2 separate regions of the Homo sapiens genome follow, and region 2 is linked to region 1. The links are contacts of gene promoters, found by promoter capture Hi-C in blood cells and fetal thymus (Javierre and others, 2016). All regions are on one chromosome and are shown on one strand. Each heading gives the region's core, a stretch centred on a gene start or on the middle of the fragment in contact. The rest is flanking DNA. Distances are from core to core; before and after follow the strand shown.

Region 1 (6,077 bases), core at 1,664-4,163:
TCCCGCCCCACGCACCGCAGCTCGTGCAGCCGCCGGTTCTCCGCCTGGTTCCAGGCCATCAGCTCGCGGTGCTCGGCGGCGTCCTTCAGGGCCTTGCGCTCCGCCAGAACCCCGGCTCGGGCCTCGTGCACCTTCCTCTGCACCTCGGACACGAACTCCATCCTGGGTGCAGACGCGCCAGGAATCAGCACCCTCTCCGCCCACTCCCACCGTCACCAGCGCGCGCGGGCGGCCACCTCCCCCCGGCCGCACACCTGAGGGCGCGCACGGTCTGGCGGTAGTGCTGGTAACGCTCCATCAGCACGAAGAACTCCGCAGGGTCCACCGCGGGCGGCATGTTCACTCGCTCGATCTTGGATTTGGCCAGCGGGTCGTGGCGGGTCTTGCGGCCGCGCGCTGGCAGCACCAGAGGGGCCCGGGGCCTGCACGGGGTCCCCGCGCCCAGGCGGCTCAGCGCGCGTAGCATGGCCGAGTCTCCTCACTGCGGCCGCGGTGCCGGGACGCCACCGTGCCCCGGAAGCGGCGCGGGGAACCTTGGGACCTGTAGTCCTCGGGCTGTCCCTCACGCCCCGCCCGGCCGTGTGGCCTCTGGAACCGAAGCGGCGACCCTGCGGACGTCCGCATCCCGCCCCCAGGCTCTGGCCCGGCCTTCCCGCCAGGGCCCGGGGCCATCCCTTAGTTACTCCCGCCCGCGGGGCCGGACCCGCGTCCCTCCAGCCCCCACGCAGGGAAGGGTCTCAGCGGGGAAGACAGGGAGGGGACGAAGGACAGAACTCGACGCAACAGCTTCGGAGAACCTCACACTTTATTGGAGGATGGCGGGGCGGGGCGGGGCTCTCGGGCTGCGGTCTGCGGAGGGAGAGGTGGCGGTCATGTCTCAGGACACTGGTCTCGTAACCGCCGAGCTGCCATCTTCCTGGTTCTCTCCCCTCTCGTCCCCCCCAGTCCCCATGTGGCCTCCCACAGCAGGACGCCCCCCGCCTCCCGTAGAAGCCTGAGGATCCAGCTAGTGTGGGGATCTCCAGCTCCCTTGGGCATGCCCTCTTGTCCACCCTAAACAAGCCTGACGCATAGAAACCTCAGCACATACACACAAATCAGGCGGTAAGACATTGCCTCATAGGAACTAACCACTTTCTTCTTTAGTTACCGGGCTCTCCTGATGCACTGTAAATGTTTGATTTGCAAAACAGTAGCAAACCATTTCCCCACGCCTGTCTTCTGCTATGGTCTTGGGGAGCTCTGCAGTCCCTGAGATGTTCCTAGTGCACATGTCAGTCACCACCTGGTCCTCTTGGCCCTGTTGTCTGTTTGAGTGAGGTTGCATCCCTCACCTCTTTCCACTGGCCTGGGGTCTGTCCACCTCAAGACAGTCATTGGCTTGTCAGGATGCCTGTGGGATCCCATGGCCACCACTGTCTTATAGAACAATTATCTCCTTCTAGTCTACTAGTGACTTTGGTCTTTAACCCAAGTGCTTTGTAAATTGTCTAGAATCCTCCTGGGAAATAGGAAGGATAGCAGACAGCACCCTGCTGTGTGCAGTAGGGGCACTGAGAAATGGCTGGGGGTGCTGTGGCAGGGGGCATCTCAGTGGTGTTTCATTCTCCCCACCCTCCCAGCACCCAACCCTAAGCCACAATGGCCTCTGATGACCAGTGGCTGGTCTTGATGCTGGGGACCTCTCACCCTACTCACCAGCAGTGTCCGTGCCAGGTGTCGCTTCCTGTGAAGGGACCACTGGGCCGTGGTCCTGCCCTCCCAGGGCATGCTGTCGTCCAGGGGAGCCAGGGCATCACTTGGGAGGCCATGGGCAGTCTGGACTGGGCTGCCTGCTGCAGTGTCCAGGGCCCTTCCTTAGAAGGGAACTGATGCTGTCCTCCCTACCCCGACCTCAGGCTCCAGGAGGGTGGGGGAGCCCCCGGCCATCACTTTCTTCCTCCCCATGAGGCTGGGAGACACCCACCTGGGGGCCTAAGGGCATTCTGGGGATCCTGGGCTGAGCTGAGGGCTCGCTTTCCTCCAGGGTACCAGCCATGGGACCAGTGCTGAGCCTCTGAGGGTCCAAGGTGGGCAGTCAGCAGCAGCAGGAGCAGGAGGCCTCGCCTGGAGCTGGCCATGGCTGCTCTAATGGACAGGGTACAGCATTCAAGGAGACTTACCTCACCCCCACATCCCCCTACTTCCTCCAGGGCCACTTTGGAAAACTGGCATCTCAGGGGCAGCTTTGGTATCTCCTTATGCCCTTCCCTCTCTGCCACCGCTCCTCATCCCAAGCATACAGGGGTCCAGATCCTGGGGGATCCTGGCCCAGCAGGGGATGATGCTCCAGGGGACGAGCCTTCTCCCTGAGCCTGGGGCACAGAGGCTACCTGCCTTGCCAGCTCTGAGGGCCCTCCCACTTGTCCAGGTCCATCCATCTTTCCTTCAAGGAGTTTCCAGAAGTGGAAGAAAGTTGGAGGGGAACAGAGACCTGAATTCAGGCCAATGGATGGGAGGATAGATGGATGGTCAGGGGAGTTCTCAATGTAGGCGTGTTTGGAGCACCAGTGCTAGGGAACCAGAGTTGCAGGCCTTCTGCCCTTTTCTCCGTGGCCTGCTGTATCTCTTCCATAGTAGTTGGGGATGTGGAATGGATGAGTGGTATTGATGGGGGCAAGTGCTTCTACCCCTTATCCCTCCCATGCCAGGGGCAACAAGCACAAGAATAGATGGTAGAGCTGTTGGGGAGAGGAGAGGAAAAGGGGACTTCTCTGGCATGGTTCAGGGGTGGAGGCACCTGGGAATGGGGAAGAGGAGCAGCACACCATACGCCCAGGATGAAACTTGGTCCAGGTGTCCTAGCCCTTAGGGAAGGCTCCCCACTCACCAAGGAAGAGCTGTGGATGAGATGGCTCCTTCAGGCAGCTGCAGGACCCTAGCCTGATGGCCCCAGGATTTATAGACCAGGCAGCTCCACCCCCAGACTCCAGTGACGTCTTCAGAGGGGAAGAGAGAAGCTCACCACCCAACCCGCTTCCCAGAGCATCCAGTCCATGAACATTCACCAGGCAGCTGCTGCCCTGAGGCCACCGACACATGCTCCCTCCCCACCACCTTCCCAGGAGCCTTCAGGCCCAGGACTCTTGCTTTAGGCTGGCCTATGTCCTGGTCTCACCTTCCCACTTCCCAGGCTGCATCTTCAAGCTCCTGATCTTGAGACCTAGAAAGCCCTCACAGCCTTCCCTGATCCCAAAAGAGAATTGTGTCCTGGGCAGGGGCAATGCCTGGGGGCTCCCCAACTCCCAGCTCAGGGCTTTCCCTGGTGGACAGTGGAAGCCTAAGAGTAGGGAGCCTGGCAGGCTGTTCAGAGGTACAGGGGAGGCTGTGACCACTCTCCCAGAGGGCTTCCGTTTGCTCACTGTAGAGTGGGTTGGGTGGGACAATTCACATCCACACACCTGGGAACCAGGGCTGGGTCACTCCAGATGGCTGGGTTTGGGTGGGGCAGTACCTACCCCGGAGTGGCTTCTCTCCTGGCGAAGAAGCGGGCCCATGAGATGGGGCCCAGCTGTTGGGCCAGTGCAGTCTCCCTAGGTAGGTAGAATAATTTTGTCCCTCAAGGCTCTAACCCCTCCCCAGTCATGGATTTGGACACAGCTAGCCTGGGCTGCTGGAAGTGGGCTCTTGCTTCCCAGTCTGCGTCAGCAGCTCAGCTTTCCTTGGCCAGCCATCAGCCTCTGGGGGTCAGAGGCCTGTTTACAGGGTTCATAGCCAATCTCCGCACTTGGGCTGAACAGCAAATGGGAGGGCCAGGGTCATTTGGAGAGCTGGTGCGTCAAATCCTGTGACAAAGATGGGGGAGGGGAGGCATAATGGGCATCAGTCAGCCCTAGACACCTGGACTTCAGCAGCCAAGGCAGGATGGGCACACCTGTGAACTTCCAGACTGACTTATTAGCAGGGACCGGAAATCAACGTGTGGCCCATTTGTTCAGTTAAATTGTTTTGGCTTAAATATGCGGACTTTGTTAACTGGGTGATTTTTAGGGAAACATTTGCTTGTGGTTTAGTGAAAATGAATCTGAGTTCGACGTACTAGTTTAGTTCTGGTTGGGGTTTACAGAATGCTTTCTTCAAAGATGCACCAAGGCTGGTGTACCTTTAAAAGGGGGATGGTTGCCTTTATTTATTCTGTAATTTGATTCCGGCTTTTCCTGAAAAATCTAAACCAGAGCCAAGCTTCCTGGGGAAAGCTCTGCTCCCTTTTTTTTCCGGCAACATACTTAGCTTTTAAGAAATGTTTGGTCCTTTCCAGACTAGAACTGTGGAACTCTTGTATCCCTCTCATTAGAACATAGAAAGCCATCTGTTCACCACGGAGCTCCAGTCCTCAGGATATGAAGTCACTGCAGCCAGGAGCTGCGTGTACTCAGGTGGGAAAGCAGAGGTTCAGAGGTGAATAAACACTCAGGTGCTGCAGGAGCACAGAGAGGCACAAACCCTGAGCAGGCGGCCTGGGTGAAGGACAGAGACGAGTGAGCTGGAGTCACGGACGCAGGGAGTGGCAGCAGAGGGGTGCAGCATAAGGAACAAAATGGAGAAGGGCCAGCAGGAACTGCCGTGGATCCATGGGGCCAGAGTATGTGGGAAGGTTAGAGGAAAGGAGGGCGGGCCCCTGGGTGTGGGCAGTGGGAGGCAGGCATCTCTGGACCACCCTGACATGCGACCAGGATGCGGGGGACTTGGGATTGGAGGAGAGCTGAGGGTCCACAGAGACAGATCCAGAATCCTGACCTCTGAGAGAGGAGACAGTGGAGGAGCAGCTAAAGGGTGAGGATAAGAGGCAGAGGACAGCCTGTGACACAAAGGGGAAGAGACCATGGGTCCCTGGTGTTTAGCACCAAGGTGACCTTGGTGCGCAGGGATGGAAAAGAAATGTGTGGGAATGAAGTGAGGAAGGGGGAAGAGTGAGAACACAGGTTTCTGCAAGTAGTCTCTCATAGAGGGAAGAACTTAGGCCTGGGGTGGGAGACATGCTCTTTATTTAATTAATTAATTAATTCTTTTTCTTTTTCTTTTTTTTTTTTTGAGATGGAGTCTCGCTGTCATCCAGGCTGGAGTGCAGTGGCGTGATCTCAGCTCACTGCAGTTTCTGCCTCCCAGGTTCCAGCAATTCTCTTGCCTCAGCCTCCCCGGTAGCTGGGATTACAGGCACGTGCCACCACGCCCGGCTAATTTTTGTATTTTTAGTAGAGATGGTTTCACCATGTTGGCCAGGCTGGTCTCGAACTCCTGACCTCAGGTGATCCGTCCGCCTTGGCCTCCCAAAGTGCTGGGATTATAGGCATTAGCCACTGTGCCCGGCCTATTTTTTTTTTTTTTTGAGACAGGGTCTCACTCTTTGACCCAGGCTGGAGTGCAGTGGCATGATCACAGCTCACTGTAGCCTCCACCTCATGGGCTCAGGTGATCCTTCCACCTCAGCCTCCCAAGTAGCTGGGACTACAGGCGTGTGCCTCCATGCCCAGATGATTTTTGTTATTTTTTGTAGAGACAGGATCTTGTCATGTTGCCCAGGTTGGTCTCGAATCCTGGGCTCAAGTGATCCACCCGCCTTGGCCTCCCAAAGTGTGGGATTACAGGTGTGAGCCACTGCACCTGGCCTGCTCTTTATTTTTAATGAGAGAGACTTGAGTATTTGGGACAGGGGAGCAATGAAGGAAACTGCAACCCAGGAGGGACCCGCCCAAATGAAGTGAGGTCTCAGTGTGGCAGGATGTAGGGCTTTGGGTGTGTGGTGGGTGCAGGCTGTTACTCTTCCCCTATGGAGAAACACTCCTACCCTAAGCCCCTTGGGTCGCAACTGACTGGCTGTGGGAAGGGCACTGGATGAAGCAGTCACTGCTGCCTTTTCCACACGACTGTGCTGTGTGAGCTTCAGCACATTTTCCTTTTGGCCTATACTAGTTTCTGTTGGGTTCACCTCTCTTGTAAACATGCAAGCCCCGAGTAGAAAGTAAAAGAGGAGTGAAGAGGGAGGCATGAAGGGATGAGGGACACATCTACAGGCTGAGCGAGACACGGAGCAAACAGCT
Region 2 (6,077 bases), core at 2,419-4,918, 230 kb before region 1:
CTGCAGGTTGCATTCAACCTTGCAGTGCCCTACTACCTGACAACCCTGGAAGCAGCACTTTCTAGTCATATTATCTGTGATGTTTGGAGGTCCAGAATAAATTCTGAATTCCCTGCAGTGGTGATGAAATGCTCATTGTTATCAGGAGACATGCCTGGGGTCTGGGCTTCCTGAGCTAGTCCAGCAAGCAGAAATCAGATGGAAGAAAACAACTCAGTGTCCCCAGCACAGTTTCATCCTGCTGATCGTATTGCCAGTCCGCAGGGAGCGGAGACAACAGAGCATACCAGAGTTGTTGTCTTGGGAAACAGCTGAGCTCATGCTGCCCAGGGCAGGAGGCTGGTCCCTGGAGGGAGGAATGTGTATGTTGGGCTGCTGTACCAGGTAGTCTCAGGTCCAGCTTTCAGAGGTCCCTGTTACTTTCTAGGCACTGCACCTCAGAAACAGGATGAAATGGAGATTGGGTAGGTCCATCCACAGTATCCACCCCAGGTAGATTAAGGAGATTTTGTGGAGGTTGGGTCAATAGGATCTGGTGACAGACTAGATGTGGGGCATGTGTTGGAAAAAGAGGTATCTAGGATGACTCCTAGGTTTCTAGCTTAGGAGATTAGGAAGGTTGGTGGTACCTGTCCTTCAAATAGAAAGCACAGGAGAAAACATAGGTCCAGGAGATAACCAAGGAGGGCTGTCTCATCCTAAGATACGTATTTGGAAGTCATGGTCAAAGTTAATGGCATGGACTGTAGTCAGCCAGTATCCAGATATAGAGTTGAAAAGATCAGAAGGCTAGAGATGGGGTGAGGGTGGAGGTTCCAGGACACCGAAAGAGAAGCAGGGAAGAGTGTTGCCTGAGACATTGAGGAAGGAGAAAAAGAGATCCACGATGTCTAATGCTGCAGAGACCTTGAGGGAAGAACAGAGAAAAGCCCACTGGCTCTGTAAGTGAGAAGGACCCTGATGACCTGAGTAGGAGGATCTGAGTGGAGAGGTGAGGGCTGAAGCCAGCTCCAAGTGGGCCAGTGGTCAAGTGAGATACTGGAAGCCAGCAGGTGCAGATGATATTCTAGAGTGCTTGGGGCTGTAAAAAGGAAGATGGCTAGAGAATACTTCCAAGAATTGTCATTTCTTAATGATCAGTTCCTCCTTATTTGCTGCTGAGAAAGCCTGTGGGCTGCAAGGAGATACTAGGTTTGATAGAGGGGACCCCTGAGAAGGAAGGGGTAGGGTCCAGAGCCCAAGTGAAGATTGACTCAGAGAAGCAGTGTCCTTGAGAAGAGCTTTAGTTGGAAGCAGGTGAAGTTGAGGAAGTGTTTGCCTAGGGGGCAGTATTGACTATCAGATGGTGTGCCTAGGACTTGCTGACCTGTCCAGCCTCAGGCCTGCCTTGTTCTTGTAAATGCTGGAGCCTTCTTTTCCTTTCAGAGCCCCTTGTCCACCGTGTGATGATTGGCACCCTAGTGCACCTCAGCTCCTTGGCATTCTCCCTCAGTGTCCCTCTTCTTTTTTGCATGAGGAACAAGCACAGATGGTGGGGCTTCCCTGGCAGAGAGCCTTGGGGAAGTGTTCTGTTTTCATCATTGAATCAGGGGCAGCCCTGGGCTTGTCTCACAAGAGAAAAGCCCCTTTTAGTCTGAACCCTTTGAGGCCAAAACAGACTGTTCTCTCTGGCATTTGGTAGGCATGTTTCATTTATACTGCCTTCCAACTCATTGTGCAAAGACAATGTGTGTTAAACTCTGTGCTTGTGTAGAGCTAGGGGTGTGATCAGATGTGGGCTGATCACCTTCAGGCCACATATGCTGTTTTCGGAACTCCTCCAAGGGGCTCATGGAGTGACACTGCCTTGCTTCTGGGCCCATGGGACCCTGTGGACTGGCCTGACCAGGCTTGCCATGGGCATGGGCTGTCTGGGGAGGGAGGAGATAAAAGGCAAGTATTTCTTTTCTCCTAGGAGATTTGGTAGCTGGCTTGGAGGTGGGATCTGCCAGCAGTAGACAAATACTTCATGTCCTAAGGGAGCATATTTCCTCCCTTTGCTCCTGTTCATGAGTCAGGCTACCCGATTCATAAGAGATTATTTTCCAGTTAGAAAAGGACTATGTTGCAGCCCCAAGACAATGTGTATTATAGAAATCAAAGGACTAAGAAATAATCTCAGTGCTTAAACAGCAAGTAAGACTCATTATAATGCTGGTGTGAGAGCAAAGTGGAGATACTTTACTGTCATGGCCTGCTTTTAAAAGCATCTGTAGATAGAAGAAGTCACCTTTGTTTTCTGCTGGGCTTCTGGAATACTTTAGCCCAGACTGGGATGGTCAGCCAGACAATAGGGATGTTTCTCTGCTCTTGGGAATAGGATACGCCAGGCTGTCTGCTCGCTCACAGCCCAGACTGGTGAGACCTTGGCCAAATCTGGCTGTCCACTCCTTGATACAGAACAGAAGGAAGCTCCTGGCCCAAACAAGGTGGAACCGCTCACTATGGCCTGTTCACCCTGTGCTCCAGATAACTGCTGTACCTGCCTCACAGATGGCATTTCCTCTTGGCAGGTGGCAGTTTACATAGCTGGCCTAAGGAATGCTGGGGATAATCCTCTTGCTTGTTTCCCTATAAAGCAAAGCCCCTTTTCTGTGCCCAGTTCCTGACCTAGAATCCCAACCCCACAAGCTTTGTCCATATGGTACATGTGCAGCAGACAGGACTTTGTACAAGTTGTGTCTGTCAGAGACCCAGATCCCAGCCTTTTCTTGGGCAGGCCAGGCCTGTGCTTGTGACCCTGGTGCACCACCGTTCATATGGCCACATTTGCACTAGTCTGACACTTTGGTTTCTTTTGCCCAAGAAGATACCAAACAGAGTCCTAGGGTATTTATAGATCTTCCCTCAACCTTTGCTGGCTCTTCACTGCCAGACCCGCCAGAGCTCTTCTTGCCTTCCACCCTGGGAATCTGGCAGGCCCTTTGTAGGATATGGCTTCCATGTCTGCCATCTCTAGAATGTGCTGAGGCTTCTGAGATCCTGCTTGCCTCCCCACTGTGCCACATTTTGGACTTGGCCTCCTGACTTTGCCTTACTCAGTTTCCAGAGGCCCTACTTTCTGTGGCTGCACCAGGGCATGGGATTCTGGCATCAAGCTTTCCAGGCTGGCTTTGCTGCCTCATCTGCAGCCTCCAGAGTGCACTGCAGAGTGACCTTTCCAAATGGCCATGCGAACACAGGTACCAAAGACTAGAGGCAGGGGACCAGGGGTCCTGGAATCTGCCTTCAAACTATTCCTTGCCCCCCATCTAAACCACGAGTGTAGCTGCCTTGGCTTGTGGAAATTGTATGACTTAGTTTCCCAGTGGTTGATATGGCCAAGACCCAATGCCACAGCCACTGACAGGCCCCTCTATGTACAGGGAGAAGTCTAATTCTCAGGCTGATGCTCAATTGACAGTGCTGATGGTGGTAGTGGTGGAAATGATAGATTGTATTTCATGGATTCTTACTCTCTGTAGGCCCTATGATAAGCCTAGGTTTTATTGATAACCTAGAGTGATGTGTTACGGTTCCCATCTTACAGAGGAGGATATTTGGTTTCAGAGAGAAAGTAGAGCAATTTGTCTAGTATCACCCATTAGTAATTAGCGGAACTCAAAATTCAAACTCAGGTTCACCTGGCTCTAAATGCCTTAGTCTTTACATTATGGTAGCTTTTCCCATAGAGGAAGAAGATAAATAATCTAAGTCCAGGCCAGGCGCAGTGGCTCACACCTGCATTCCCAGCACTTTGGGAGGCCAAGGCAGGTGGATCACCTGAGGTCAGGAGTTTAAGACCAGCCTGGCCAACATGGTGAAACCCCATCTCTACTAAAAATACAAAAATTAGACGGGTGCAGTGGTGTGCGCCTGTAATTCCAGCTACTCAGGAGGATGAGGCAGGAGAATCACTTGAACCCGGGACATGGAGGTTGCAACCAGCCGAGATCACACCACTACACTGCAGCCTGGGTGACCCAGTGAGACTCTGTCTCAAAAAAAATAAAAATAAAAATAAAGAATATAAGTCCTGTGTTTTAAGTGCCACCTGTGTTATTCAAAAGAACTTTTTTTCTTTTTTTTTAGTTCAGAGAAGGGGAGAGAGCAGGGTGGCATGAGGGGAGGACTAGGATGATAAAATGTTAAGAAAGATTTGAAGGAAGATGTAAGCTTTACCAAAATTAAAAAGTAAAGGGAGTAAGTGGGGGGAAAAGGTGCAGAACAGTGTAATGTGTCACTACTTGTGGAAAAAATTATACTCAACACTTTTGTATATACTCAGCAGATCTTCTGGAAGAAGAGGTAAGAATCTGATAACTGCAGTTGCCTCCAGGGCAGGGAATTTAGGTGTCTGGACAGGAAAGGAATTATTTTATTTTCTTTGTGAACACTTCTGATATAAATTAGATGTTTGTCCCCTCCAAATCTCATGTTGAAACATAATCCCCAGTGTTGAAAGTGGGGCCTAGTGGGAGGTGTTTGGGTCATGGGGGCAGATCCCTCATGAATGGCTTGGTGCTGTCCTTGTGATAGTGAGTGAGTTCTTACTCTTGAGTTCACAGGAGACCTGGCTGTTTAAAGGAGTGTGGCACCTCCCCCGCCCCTTCTTGCTCCTGCCCTCACCACTGTGATATGCTGGCTCCCAGGCCTTCTACCATGATCTTAAGCTTCCTGAGGCCTCCCCAGAAGCCGATGCCAGCGCCACGCTTCCTGGAAAGCCTGCAGAACCTTTAGCCAATTAAGCTAAAGGTTCTTTATAAATTAGTCAGCCTCAGGTATTTCTTTACAGCAACCCCAAAACAGCCTGACACACTTTCTATATGTTCTGAGTTTCGCCCTCAATAACTGAATACAGCTAATTTTTTTAACTTAACACTTGACTGAAGTAAATAGTATCAGTATAGAGTGTTCATTACTGAATATTCATTACTTAGGATTCTGCAGTTACAAGGTCACTTAGGAAAGCAGAAATCTCCATAATTTAGAGATATTCACTTAAGAACTATTCATTTATAAACCTACTCTCACCGGGCGCGATGGCTCACGTCTGTAATCACGGCACTTTGGGAGGCCGAGGCGGGTGGATCACCTGAGGTCAGGAGTTCGAGACCAGCCTGACCAACATGGAGAAACTCCATCTCTGCTAAAAAATATAAAATTAGCCCGGCATGATGGTGCATGCCTGTAATCCCAGCTACTCGGGAGGCCGGGAGTCTGAGGCAGGGGAATCACTTGAACCCAGGAGGCGGAGGTTGTGGTGAGCTGAGATTGCACCATTGCACTCCAGCCAGGGCAACAAGAGCGAAACTCCATCTCAAGAAATAATAATAATAAAAAAATAATTAAACTACTCTCTATTAGTAAATGGGTTGATGATGAGCATTGAATCTTTTTTAAGTATAGAATTATAACACCTGTGAGAATTCTATTACAAAATAGAATATAAATGTTGAAAGCCTATCTATGAAATTATATTTTACAAAAAATTGGCAGAGGAGAGATACTCTTTACATCTTTCAGAATGGGAGATTGATAAAGTTTAAAGCTATTAAATCAAGTTATAAAGGGTTAAGTATACTCTTTAAAGATATAAAAGTGACCACTAGAGGAACTGAAAATCCTAATGAAGCTGGGTGCCGTGGCTCACGCCCGTAATCCCAGCACTTTAGAGGAGGCCAAGGCATGAGGATCACTTGAGCCCAGGAGTTTGAGACCAGTCTGGGCAACAAAATGAGACCCAGTGTCTAAAAAAAATAAAAAAATTAGCCAAGCATGGTGGCACGCACACCTGTGGTCCCAGCTACACAGGAGGCTGAGGCAGGAGGATTGCTTGAGCCCAGGAGGTCAATGCTTCAGTGAGCCACTGAATATATAAATATATATAATATGTAGACTTCCTTTGGTTCCTGATTCAAAAATTATTAACTGAGAAAACATTTATAAGACAGAGAAATTTGAACACAGACTGGATTTTTTTATATTAAGGAGTTCATTGTTAATATGTTTAGAGTCCTTATATTATGGAAATTCACGTTGAAGTATTTTTGTTTGAA

The links. The method cuts DNA at HindIII sites, captures the fragments that hold promoters and counts their contacts. A CHiCAGO score of 5 or more calls a contact.
Region 2: a fragment that was not itself captured here is called in contact with the fragment with the promoter of GNRH2 in region 1 in 1 of 17 cell types (M2 macrophages); the score reaches 5.4 in M2 macrophages.

Annotation. Positions count from the first base shown.
Region 1 is chr20:3,040,458-3,046,534 of GRCh38, reverse strand. GNRH2 (gonadotropin releasing hormone 2) reads right to left here and starts at 2,913. Exons shown (of 4, transcript NM_178331.2): 1 at 2,870-2,913; 2 at 1,967-2,127; 3 at 1,699-1,835; 4 at 788-849. The coding sequence starts at 2,120. The coding sequence ends at 799. It overlaps MRPS26 (mitochondrial ribosomal protein S26), which reads right to left and starts at 483. Exons shown (of 4, transcript NM_030811.4): 1 at 255-483; 2 at 16-162. The coding sequence starts at 466. RefSeq lists a silencer at 1-841 and an enhancer at 942-1,001. The HindIII fragment of the contact is 14,485 bases long and covers 1-4,223 here.
Region 2 is chr20:3,272,103-3,278,179 of GRCh38, reverse strand. The region is part of intron 29 of DNAAF9 (dynein axonemal assembly factor 9); the gene reads left to right. Among named protein-coding and RNA genes, the nearest start is that of SLC4A11, 36 kb to the right of the region's middle. The HindIII fragment of the contact is 1,057 bases long and covers 3,140-4,196 here.